Linked DNA regions of Homo sapiens: region 1 is linked to region 2. The links are contacts of gene promoters, found by promoter capture Hi-C in human tissues and cell types (Jung and others, 2019). All regions are on one chromosome and are shown on one strand. The core of a region is centred on a gene start or on the middle of the fragment in contact, and the rest is flanking DNA. Distances in the headings are between cores, read along the strand shown.

Region 1 (5,385 bases), core at 837-3,336, 150 kb before region 2:
TCCATATTCTGGCCAACACTTGCTGTTTTGCCAGTTTTGCCACTGTGGTGAGTGTGCAGTGCTGTTATTATTAGGATTTTAATTTACATTTCTCTTATTATTAGTGAACCGTCTTTATTTATTGGCCAAGCTATTATACTTCCCTTCTGTTAAATGCTTGTTCTTGTTTTTTGCTCATGTTTCTTTTAGATTGCCTTTTTCTTGTTTATTTTAGGAATTTTTTTTTTTTTCTTGAGACTAAGTCTCACTCTGTTGTCCAGGCTGGAGTGCAGTGGCGCAATCTCAGCTCACTGCAGCCTCTACCTCCCAGGTTCAAGCAATTCTCATGCCTCAGCCTCCCGAGTAGCTGGGACTACAGGCGTGCACCATCAGGCCCAGCTAATTTTTGTATTTTTAATAGAGACGGGGTTTCGCCATGTTGGCCAAGCTGGTCTTGAACTCCTGACCTCAGGTCATCTGCCCACCTCGGCCTCTCAAAGTGCTGGGATTACAGGCGTGACCCACTGCGCCTGGCCTATTTTAGGAATTCTTTCTTTCTTTCTTTCTTTCTTTCTTTCTTTCTTTCTTTCTTTCTTTCTTTCTTTTTCTTTCTCTTTCCTTTCTTTCTTTCCTTTTCTTTTTTCTTTTCTTTCTTTCCTTTCTTTCTCTTTCTTTCTCTCTCTCTCTCTCTGTTTCTCTCTCTTTCTCTCGATCATTAGTTCGTTTGTTCATCTTTCTTTTCTTTCTTGATGGAGTTTCACTCTTGTTGCCTGGGCTAGAGTGCAATGGCACGATCTTGGCTCACTGCAACCTCTGCCTCCCAGGTTTAAGCGATTCCCCTGCCTCAGCCTCCCGAGTAGCTGGGATTACAGACATGCACCACCATGCCCGGCTAATTTTGTGTTTTTAGTAGAGGTAGGGTTTCTCTATGTCGGTCAGGCTGGTCTCAATCTCCCGACTTCAGGTGATCTGCCTGCCACAGCCTCCCAAAGTTCTGGGATTACACGTGAGCCACTGCGCCCAGCCAGGAATTCTTTATAGATTTTGGATACTAATTCTTTGTCAATTCAGTATATTGCAAATATTTTCTTTCACCTGGTGGCTTGTCTTTTTATTTTATTTCTGATGCTTTTTCATGAATAAAAGTTCTTAGTTTTAATGTAATCAGGATAATTAATCATTTCCTATGTGATTCATATATTTTAGATCTATTGAGACTTTTCTGTTGAATTATAAAAATATAATTTTTCAAAGAATCCACCTGGATTGCTCTGTGAAAGTGATATGAGATAGAAGTCTAAGTTCATTTTTTAAATGTAGGTAGCCACCTGTCTCAGCAAAGTTATTGAAAAATCATTGTTTTCCCACTGATCGGCAGTGCCAGCTTTGTTATAAATCAAGTCTCTTTATGTGTGCATCTATTAATAGGCTCTCTGTTCTGTTCCATTGGGAAAGAAAATAACACATTGTCTTATTTTAGATAGATAACATATTTCTATATGGTGACTTAGTCTGCTTGGGATGCCATAACAAAATACCACAGAGTGAGTGGATTAACAGTAGGAATTTATTTCTCACAGTCTGGAGGCTGAGAAAATTATAACACTATACTAAAAGGCATTAAAAATGACATAAACACACATCCCATTCATGGACTGGAAAACTCAGGTTTACTTACTTGACATGGTAAAAATGACAATTCTCTCCAAAGTGATCTTTAAATTTAACATAATTTCAGGAAAAAAAAAACCAACAAGTTTTTTGAAAATCCTGAAAAGCCAACATAAAAATGTCAATAACTTTGAGCAAAGTGCTAAGAACAGCCAAGATACTCCTGAAGAAGAAAAACAAGGTGGGAACTTGCCTTATCACATTAGAGACTGAATGTTTGTGTCCTCTCCAAAATTCCAGTGTTGAAGCCTTAACCCCAAAAGTGATGTTATCTGGAGATGGGGCTTTTGGAAGGAAATAGGGGTTAGATGAGGTCATGAATGTGGGACAAGGTCTGTTGGGATGTGGTGCCCTTATAAGAGCTACCAGAGAGCTTAGCCCCTACCATGTATGCATGGAGGAGGAGTCATGTGGGCATGTGGCACCACACCTGGCTAATTTTTTTTTTTTTTTAGTAGAGATGGAGTTTCACCATGTTGGCTAGGCTGGTCTCAAACTCCAGGCCTCACGTGAAGCTCCCACCTCAGTCTCCCAAAGTGCTGGGATTACAGGCGTGAGCCACTGTACCTGGCTGGAGGGAGCCACCGCACCTGGCTGGAGGGACACTTTAAAAATGAAGGTTTTGGTCTGGCACGGTGGCTCACACCTGTAATCCCAGCACTTTGGAAGGCCGAGGCGGGCAGGTCACCTGAGGTCAGGAGTTCGAGACTAGCCTGGCCAGCGTGGTGAAACCCCATCTCTACTAAAAATACAAAAATTAGCTGGACCGTGGTGGCGCATGCCTGTAATCCCAGCTACTTGGGAGGCTGAGGCACAAGAATCACTTGAACCTGGGAGGCGGAGATTGCAGTGAGCAGAGATGGCACCACTGCACTCCAGCCAAGGCAACAGAGTGAGACTCCATCTCAAAAAAAAAAAAAAAAAAAGTAAAGTTTTGTACAGCACTGAGCATGAAGGAACTGTATAGCTGCATATTACTTGTAACATAGGTCACATTCAGGAACAGAATGTCAGGAGAAGTAAGCAAGTCACAGAAGAATACATGATTAGGATTTCATTTATATAAAAACACAGACAAAACTAAGTAATACACAGTTTACAAATACATTCAAGTGTGGTAAAACCATCCAGAATTCAGGATGCTGTTCCCCCTGGGTGGAAGAGAAGGGCTCTCATTGAGGAAGGACATCCAGGGGGTTTCAACGGTGCTAGTAATGCTCAATTTCTTAGGCCCAGTGGTGAGTTCATAGACATCTGGGTTTTGTAGTTGTTGCTTTAGTTTTTTTTTTTTTTTTTTTTTAAACCTTGTGTGTACATTTCACACACATTTATAGACACAGGATGAAAATCATCTAGCCATTGCATCATAAATTTCCCCAGCAGTGATAAATGTTCCCTCCTCACATAGACTGGGCTGTTGGAAGATTTTTATTTGTACAGCCAGTTTTCTGAAAGAGGAAAGCGAAATTCTTCTTTGGCATTTGCTTGGTATTTTGGTTTACCCTGAGGGCCCATCCCTCTTTTGTTGGACTTCCAGGGATACAGAGCTCAATCAAAGACAACCAAACTGCAGTCCTCCTGGTTTTGGGACAATAATGGGAAACTTCCTCTTATCCTGGGTTTTCAGACTTACAGAATGGAGAAGGAAGGACAGAGTTCATCCACTAAGGACACCAAGGATGGCACAAAGAGTCAGGGAGATCTCCTCAGGAGTTGGCTGCCCTGGCCCCTGTGAACCCCTGCAAAGGTATGGCCCTCAGACCACTGTCTGACAGTCAAGAGTCCAGAGCAGATACCAGAAGGGTTATTGCTTCAAGCAGATGAGGATCTGAGACCAGAGCACAGGCACTGGGCCACCCAGTAAGTCACTTCACTTATCTCATGTGTGCTCTGAGAATAATGGCAGAGTTACTGCTCATAGAGCCAGGCTAAGGGGCAGCTGCGATCACAGGACAGATCACAGGACAGTACTGAAATCAGATCCTGTTTACTGAGACCTTGCCTTGGCTCATGCCCCATAATGAGCTCTTCCAGCACTGTCTTGTGAATTTGTCTTCCTCTTTTCCATTTTGTTTTGAGGCTTCAGAGTCTAGTGGGAGAGGAAATGCTGGAGATGACCTCGCTCATCCTTTCCCATCTTCCTATTGAGTAAATGGAATGTGCCAGCTTCTCCAATCTGTGCTTTTTTCTGGAAGCTTCAGGATTTTGAGCTTTGTCCAGGAGGCCTTTCAAGTGGCACTGGACTTGTTTCTAAAAAGGTTCACTTCAAAAGTACAAATGTAGAGGGATACCCAGGACAGGGAAGGGTGCAGGTACTAACCACTCAGCAGCAGGAGCAGTTTCTACCTCGTGACACCTATGGAGCCCTCTTATCTCTGGAAACAGTAAGTAGAGTCATCTTGTGGCAGGAGTTGGTGGGGTTGTGGTTTTAGGAGAGTGTTGAAGGTCTGGGATGAGCTCTGTGGGCTGATGGAAGGAGTGGGGAGACAGCAGTGAACAGGCTACGGGGCAGCACTGTGGCCTGTTGTGGTTGAGGGAGCAGAGAAGGCACATCTACAGATTCACCACAGCTGGGCTTTGGACAGGGGAGAATTGAAAGAAAAAAAACATGAGAGAACTGAAGGCACCAGCATGGTATAGTGTCTTTGGCATCAGACAAACCTGTGTTCTGTACCTGGCTCCACCACCAAGTAATGCTGTGATTTTGGGGGAAATCTCTCTAAGCTTGAGTTTTCTCATCTGTCCTATGAGAAAAAATAATACCACCTGTTACAATTGTGAAAACAGAAAACTATAATGTATGACATGTGTGGTGCTTAGTAAATACTGCGTGAAACCTGTTCCCATTCCTTTCTTTTAACAGAACAAAGATTAAAGGTTAAGTCCTGTCCCAGAGGATCTGCCCTTGATGTGGATGAGAAGAATATCAGAAATTTCTGAGCAATAGGGGAAAATGCGAATACCAATGACTGTGAAGGCTCAGTGACATCAGAGGATGGGGTGTGGGGAGGGAAACAGCTAAAAGGGGGATGGGGTGCTGGAGTCAGAGAGTAGTTGCTGGGCTGGAGATTTCAGAAGTCATGACATTCTGGGTGCAGCTTTACTGCTCTAAGAAGGAATGGGAGTGTTGGCATTGGAAGGGAAGACTGAGCACATTCAGAGTGATTTGAAATATGGCATGGTCAGGAGGGCAGTAGGTGTGAGCAGTAGAGGGAGGGGCTTGTGTCTCTAGGGGAATGAAAGTAACATGCTGTGGTGTTGGGGAGACTGGCCTGGGAGCAGCATGGAGGAACTTTAGGGTTGGTACAGGATGAGGCTGGGGCATGATTAGCCTCCTTTTCAGAGGGCCTCAGGAAAAGGCAGTGTGCACAGAAAGCCAGGCTACTTGTTGGAGGGTAGAGGTTTCCAGAGCTTGAACCTAGATAGTCGCTGGCTGTGGCTGCCACAGATGGTAAGGTTGGCATGTCCCTCTGACGGGGCATCTGGTTCTTCCATGAGAGGCAGGTGCCAGTTCTTCTTCTTGTACCTAAAAACTGCCTCCTTCTCCCTTCACTTCTCCTGTCCCCTGTGAACACATACTAACTAGGCCCCTCCCTTCCTTCTGAAACCTCACCTCCTCAGGAAGCCCTCAAAGCTTGCAGTCTCCAGATTCCTCACCCAGGATGTGAAGGCAGCCCTCAGACTCCTGGCCTTTGCTATTCTTGTCATTCCAGCCTCCAGAGCTTTGCACTGCTT
Region 2 (5,602 bases), core at 1,995-4,494:
CTCTTCCTCCCACCCCCAAGACTGAGTTTTGGGGGGCAAGGTGGAGAGAGCTGGCAACTACTGTGAGCAAGTCCCCTAGCCCCTGACCAGCCTCCTCCCATGACTGGTGACTGTTTAATGAGCTGTGCATCCCCCACAAAAACATGAGTGCCCCTCTGTGTGGCCTCTAACCCTCTGCACAGCCCTTCTGGGTGGTCCTCACCAGGTCTCTGAGCTGGGTGGGAGGCCATCCTGGCGACCACTGCCCATTCCATTCACCCCTCACTGTACCTGCCCTAGAACCTGGGCCTAGGCCACAGGGGCAGGGAGAAGAGAAGGCATTAGTAAGAAAAAAATAGAAAAAAATATGAACAGACTCAGCTTTGGGACGTCCAACCACAAAAGAAATTATATATAAATATATATAAATATATATCTCTACCATATGTGATGGAAAGACTTTTTGTTTTCCTTTCCCAAAGAAATAAAACGGAAAAAGCCTCTTGAGTGGTATTCTTTGGCCTGCTTGTGTCTTTGCAGGTGCGGGAGGTGAGGCCCGGGTGGGGGATGGGGGCAAAGCTGGAGTAAACAGATTTCCCAGAGGAGGCATGAGACTGGAGGTGCTCACTGGGCCGTGCTAGGAGGTTGGCCCAAAGCCCAAGTTCTGCCACGTTGCCCGGGAAGAGTCGTGGTGCCATGTATATGCCCAGTGGGGCTTTCTCTTCAGCTCAGACTGTTGCCAAAGGGGTTAAAAGCTGGCTCCAGCTCAGAATCTGGACACTAAGCTGCTAGCCAGAAAACAGGTGACGCAGGACAGCTAGATGCAGCCTGCAGTCGCCTAAGCCACCTTACAGCAACTGGTAGATGTTTGCGGGCTGAATGGATAGAAGTGAAGACTGGGAACAGGTTTGCAATTAATGGCGAAGCCCCAAAGGCAAAAGGGACCCAAGCGTGCTGCACAGCAGAGAGCTTCCCTTTACAACAGTTCCTCTGTCATCCTCTCAAAGCACACAATCAAGAATGCACTCTGCTGTAAGTAATCAAAGGACCTCAAAGAGTGGTTTATTTTTCCCCAACCTGACAAGAAATCCGGAGGTGGTGTCATGGTTGTTGGATCCTCGGGGACCTAGATTTTCATCCTCCCACTGTTCCATCCTTGGCATGTTGTTCCCTCCTTACCACAAAGTGGCTGCCACAGCTCCATGAAGACATTGAGGCGGCCCTACTTTATCATGAAAAGTAAAAGCTTTCCCAGAGCCCTCCCAGGACCCTTCCCTTTAAGTCCTGTTGGCCAGAACTGAGCCACATGCTCCTCCCACTTCAAGGGAGAATGGGAATTTGAGTATTACAAAGAGAAACAGGATTGTCATGGCTGCCTAGGAACAAACATGGTTCATTCCTTGGGGGCAGGCTCTCTGCTTTCTCTGGGTTCTACTGGCAAGGACAGAGTCATAACAATGAATAGTGTTTGCCCTGGTCTGGCCTGAGGGAGAGAACCCTCCCTAAGCAGTGGTGTCTGTGGTCTGGGGCTCCAGATATTCAAACAGCGCTGTCTCCAGAGCTCAGGAGTTGGGATGTCAGGCTTGCCCCTCCTGGCAGGGACGTGTTCTTCCTACATTGATTTTGTCTTCCCTACAAGATAGGCCCTGGAGGGAGCATGATTTCTCAGCTCTCCTTCACACCCCTTAGAGCCAAGGCATTGACAAGATATGAAGACCCTGATCAGCAGATCTCAAGTGCCCTCAGGAATGGCAGCCTGGGGCCAGGACTTTCTGATAGGTAGAGGTTTAGTAGAGTCTCTTTCTTGTCTAGGTACCTATACTGACAGCTGTGTCAATATATGTACCCAGTAGGACCCAGCCCTCCTTCTTAGGGTGGTGGAGAATCACCCTGGCTCATGCTCCATAGCTCTGGCCTCGCTAAGCCCCAGCTCCACATCCATTTCTCTCAGCAGGCTCATCTATCCATCATGTCACTAGCTCTTTTCCTGAGAGCACTTTACAGATACATCTCTATTATAAATGCATTAAAAAAAAAAAAAGATGGAGTCTCACTGTTGCCCCGGCTGGAGTGCAGTGGTGCAATCTCGGCTCACTGCAACCTCTACCTCCTGCGTTCAAGTGATTCTCCTGCCTTAGCCTCCCAAGTAGCTGGGGTTACAGGTGCACGCCACCATGCCCCGCTAATTTTTTTTTGTATTTTTAGTAGAGACGAGGTTTCACCATGTTGGCCAGGCCGGTCTCCAACACCGGGGATTACAGGTGTGAGCCACCACACCCGACCAATGCATTGTTAAAATTAGACAGGTGTGGTGGTGCATGCCTGTGGTCTTAGCTACTCAGGAGGCTGAGGCAGGAGGATCACTTGAACCCAGGAGGTTGAGGCTGCAGTGAGCCATGATTGCACCATTGCACCCCAGCCTGGGCAATGGGGCAAGACTTTGTCTCAAAAAAAAAAAAAATGTATTGTTTTTCTCACTGTACAGGCTTAGAGAATTTATGTGGGCCGGGTGCGATGGCTCATACCTGTAATCCCAGTACTTTCGGAGGCTGAGGCGGCAGTATTGCATGAGCCCAGGAGTTCGAGACTAGCCTGGGCAACATAGGAAGACACTGCCATCCCCGTCTCTATGAAAATAATAATAATAATATAACAAGAATGAATTTATGTGACTTCTCCAAGGCCATAAAACCCTGAGTGGTGGTCCTCAGATTTGAACATGTGTCTAAGCTACTTACTTTTTTTTTTTTTTTTTTTTTTTTAGATGGAGTCTCGCTCTGTGTCCCAGAGCTGGAGTACAGGGGTGCCCAGACTGGAGTACAGTGGCGAGATATCGGCTCACTGCAACCTCCGCCTCCCGGGTTCAAGCGACTCTCCTGCTTCCGCTTCCTGAATAGCTGGATTATAGGCGTGCGCCACCACGCCCGGCTAATTTTTGTATTTTTAGTAGAGACGGGGGTTTCACCACGTTAGCCAGGCTGGTCTCGAACTCCTGAACTCAGGTGATCCGCCCGCCTTGGCCTCCCAAAGTACTGGGATTACAGGCGTGAGCCACCGCGCCGGGACTAAGCTGCTTAATGACTTCCAGAGCGATCCATCCAGGAAGGTGTTTTCCCTCTGCAGGTCCTAGACTCCCCCTGCCTCCTCAACAACGTCCTCCAGTGGAAAATGTCCTTGGGAAACGCTGACAGAGTCTTTTGAGCCTCGGCCGCATCCGTCACTCGCGCAGCAGGCGGAAGTAGCGGGCAGTTGGCCGGAAGTGGGGCTGTGAGGCTCGGAGTCGCCGGAGGAGCCAGTATCTGTGTCGCCGCCGCCCGCGGCGTCCCCGGTTTGGTGTTGCGGCGCCCACCTTCGGGAGGATCAGGTGAGTGGCGGCGGCCGGGGAGGAGGTCGCGGCGGCCTCTTTCCGCGTTCACGACCGTCCTGGGCCTTGGCCTGTGCCTCCTGTCCTCCCGGCCGGCCCAGAGCTGGAGCGCATCGAGGCCTTGTTCAGCTCTTGGCCTGGGTTGCCAGTGCCTCTCGCAGGCCTGGCTGTGGTGAGAACTTCAGTGACTCTCGCCGCTCCTGAGTTTGTGATCTTTGGCAGGGGGCTTATCTGACCCTTGATTTTTTTTCCTCTGTGAAATGGAGATCGTAACAGTACTTGTCTCACGGTGCTGTTAAGAGAATGTAGTCAGATATTCTGCCGCGCCTCTCATCACACTTTGATGTGCCTGCGAATCGCTTAGAGATTCTGATTCTGTAGGACTGGGGTGGGTTCTGAGATAACTGTGTTCCTAACTAGATTCCAGACGAGGCTGAAGCCTCTGGCACGCAGACCACACACTGAGTAGCAAGGCCCTACAGTATGTTGCTTAGCATTTGGGATGCGGAGTCTTCGGTAAACATCAGTATGATAGGATATATACCTTCCCCCCATTTTTAGCAGTTTCTCGTTGCACAAGCCTAAGGGTAGTATTGATGGCCTTCTCCCTTTTTCTTTCCGTGGGTAAGAATAGTTGCTCTTTCTCTTTCTGTGCAAACCGTGACACAGCTCTTCTGTCTTGACTCAGGGAACTTTGGGTCCCCTCATATCAGCTGTGTTCATCAGTCTTGGGTGATGCTTCACTGATCAGACCCTTGGACAGTGCTTCATCCTGTGGAGCTGATAGCCAGCTGCGTTAGCACCAACTGTGGCTGGCGTTTTGTGCTCCAGTCATTTGTTGCTGCTGGAATCTGAATTCACGTTTTCTACACTTTGTGAATAGTAAGAATGGCTGCCTTTCCAGAACTAGATTCTGTAGCTCACTGACCTGAATGGTCCTGGGCAAGTCCTTGGATAGTTTGCTACTACCTGGTAGACTAAAATAAAATCTGGGCCGGACACAGTGGCTCACGCCTGTAATCCCAGCACTTTGGGAGGTCAAGGCGGGCGGATCACGAGGTCAGGAGATCGAGACCATCTTGGCTAATATGGTGAAACCCCGTCTCTACTAAAAATACAAAAAAATAGCTGGGCGTGGTGGCGGGCGCCTGTAGTCCCAGCTACTCTGGAGGCTGAGGCAGGAGCGTGGCGTGAACCCCGGGAGGCGGAGTGTGCAGTGAGCCGAGATCGCGCCACTGCACTCCAGCCTGGGCGAGAGAGCGAGAGTCCGTCTCAAATAAATGAATAAATAAATAAATAAATAAGTAAATAAAATCTGAAGACTCTGTGCTGCATAACATAACTTAAAAAGTGAGGCCTTTGGCAGTTATGCAGGTCTAATGTTTATTAGTCAGTATGATTTTCTTCCCCATCCATTGGTTTATTTTTTTAGTCCCTAATAAGGCCTTGCCATTCATCATGTGAATAAGTCAACTTTGATATAAAATAATTCTAAGGTCAGGTGCGGTGGCTCATGCCTGTAATCCCAGCACTTTGGGAGGCCGAAGTGGAAGGATTACTTGAGCCCAGGAGTTCGAGACCAACCTGGGGGCAACATAGGGAAACTCTGTCTCTACGAAAAAAACAAAAAACAAAAAAAACACACAAAAAAACAAAATGTAGCCAGGCGTGGTGGTGGGCTTGTAGTCCAAGCTACTTAGGAGGCTGAGGTGGGAGGATCGTTTGAGATCCTTGAGCGATCCTCGCCCGGGAGGTTGCCGGGGTGAGAGGTGGGGGGCAGTGGTCGAGGATGCAGTGAGCGGAGATTGCACCACTGCCCTCCAGACTGAACAACAGAGCGAGACCCTGTCTGAAAAAAAAAACAAAAGAATTCTGAAACTCCTTCTTTATTTGTCTGAAGTATGTACTATACAGCCTCTATACAGCCTTGCAAATTGTAAAAGCAGATAAAACCAAGTGTTTATTGAGCTAACAGTTATAGGTACTTGGACCATTTATTTGGGAATTTTCTCTTATGACGACTGTGTGCATGCAGCTACTTCTCTTTACCTGCCTGGATTTTGTAATTCCTCTAGAAGCCCCATTTAGATGGGCTGAGAGGACATGAGTGCCTACTGCCTGTTGTTATATGGAGAGGTTTTCTAAAGACAGGGTTTTATGAAACCCTTTAAAAGCAGTAGCTCTAACAGAATCATCTACAGGGCTTAGTCATACTATATCTACCCACATCCTTCTTGCCATTCTGATAGAGGAATAGCA

Evidence for each region. Contacts are between HindIII fragments. The study calls those that stand out against the background at their distance.
Region 1: a fragment that was not itself captured here is called in contact with the fragment with the promoter of FASTKD5 in region 2 in 1 of the 25 tissues and cell types used here (stomach).

The regions. Positions count from the first base shown.
Region 1 is chr20:3,305,533-3,310,917 of GRCh38, reverse strand. The region is part of intron 20 of DNAAF9 (dynein axonemal assembly factor 9); the gene reads left to right. Among named protein-coding and RNA genes, the nearest start is that of SLC4A11, 69 kb to the right of the region's middle. The HindIII fragment of the contact is 8,715 bases long and covers 1-5,385 here.
Region 2 is chr20:3,157,507-3,163,108 of GRCh38, reverse strand. FASTKD5 (FAST kinase domains 5) reads left to right here and starts at 3,244. Exons shown (of 2, transcript NM_021826.5): 1 at 3,244-3,343. It overlaps UBOX5 (U-box domain containing 5), which reads left to right and starts at 3,244. Exons shown (of 5, transcript NM_014948.4): 1 at 3,244-3,343. It overlaps LZTS3 (leucine zipper tumor suppressor family member 3), which reads left to right. Exons shown (of 5, transcript NM_001365618.1): 5 at 1-492. The HindIII fragment of the contact is 11,638 bases long and covers 1-5,602 here.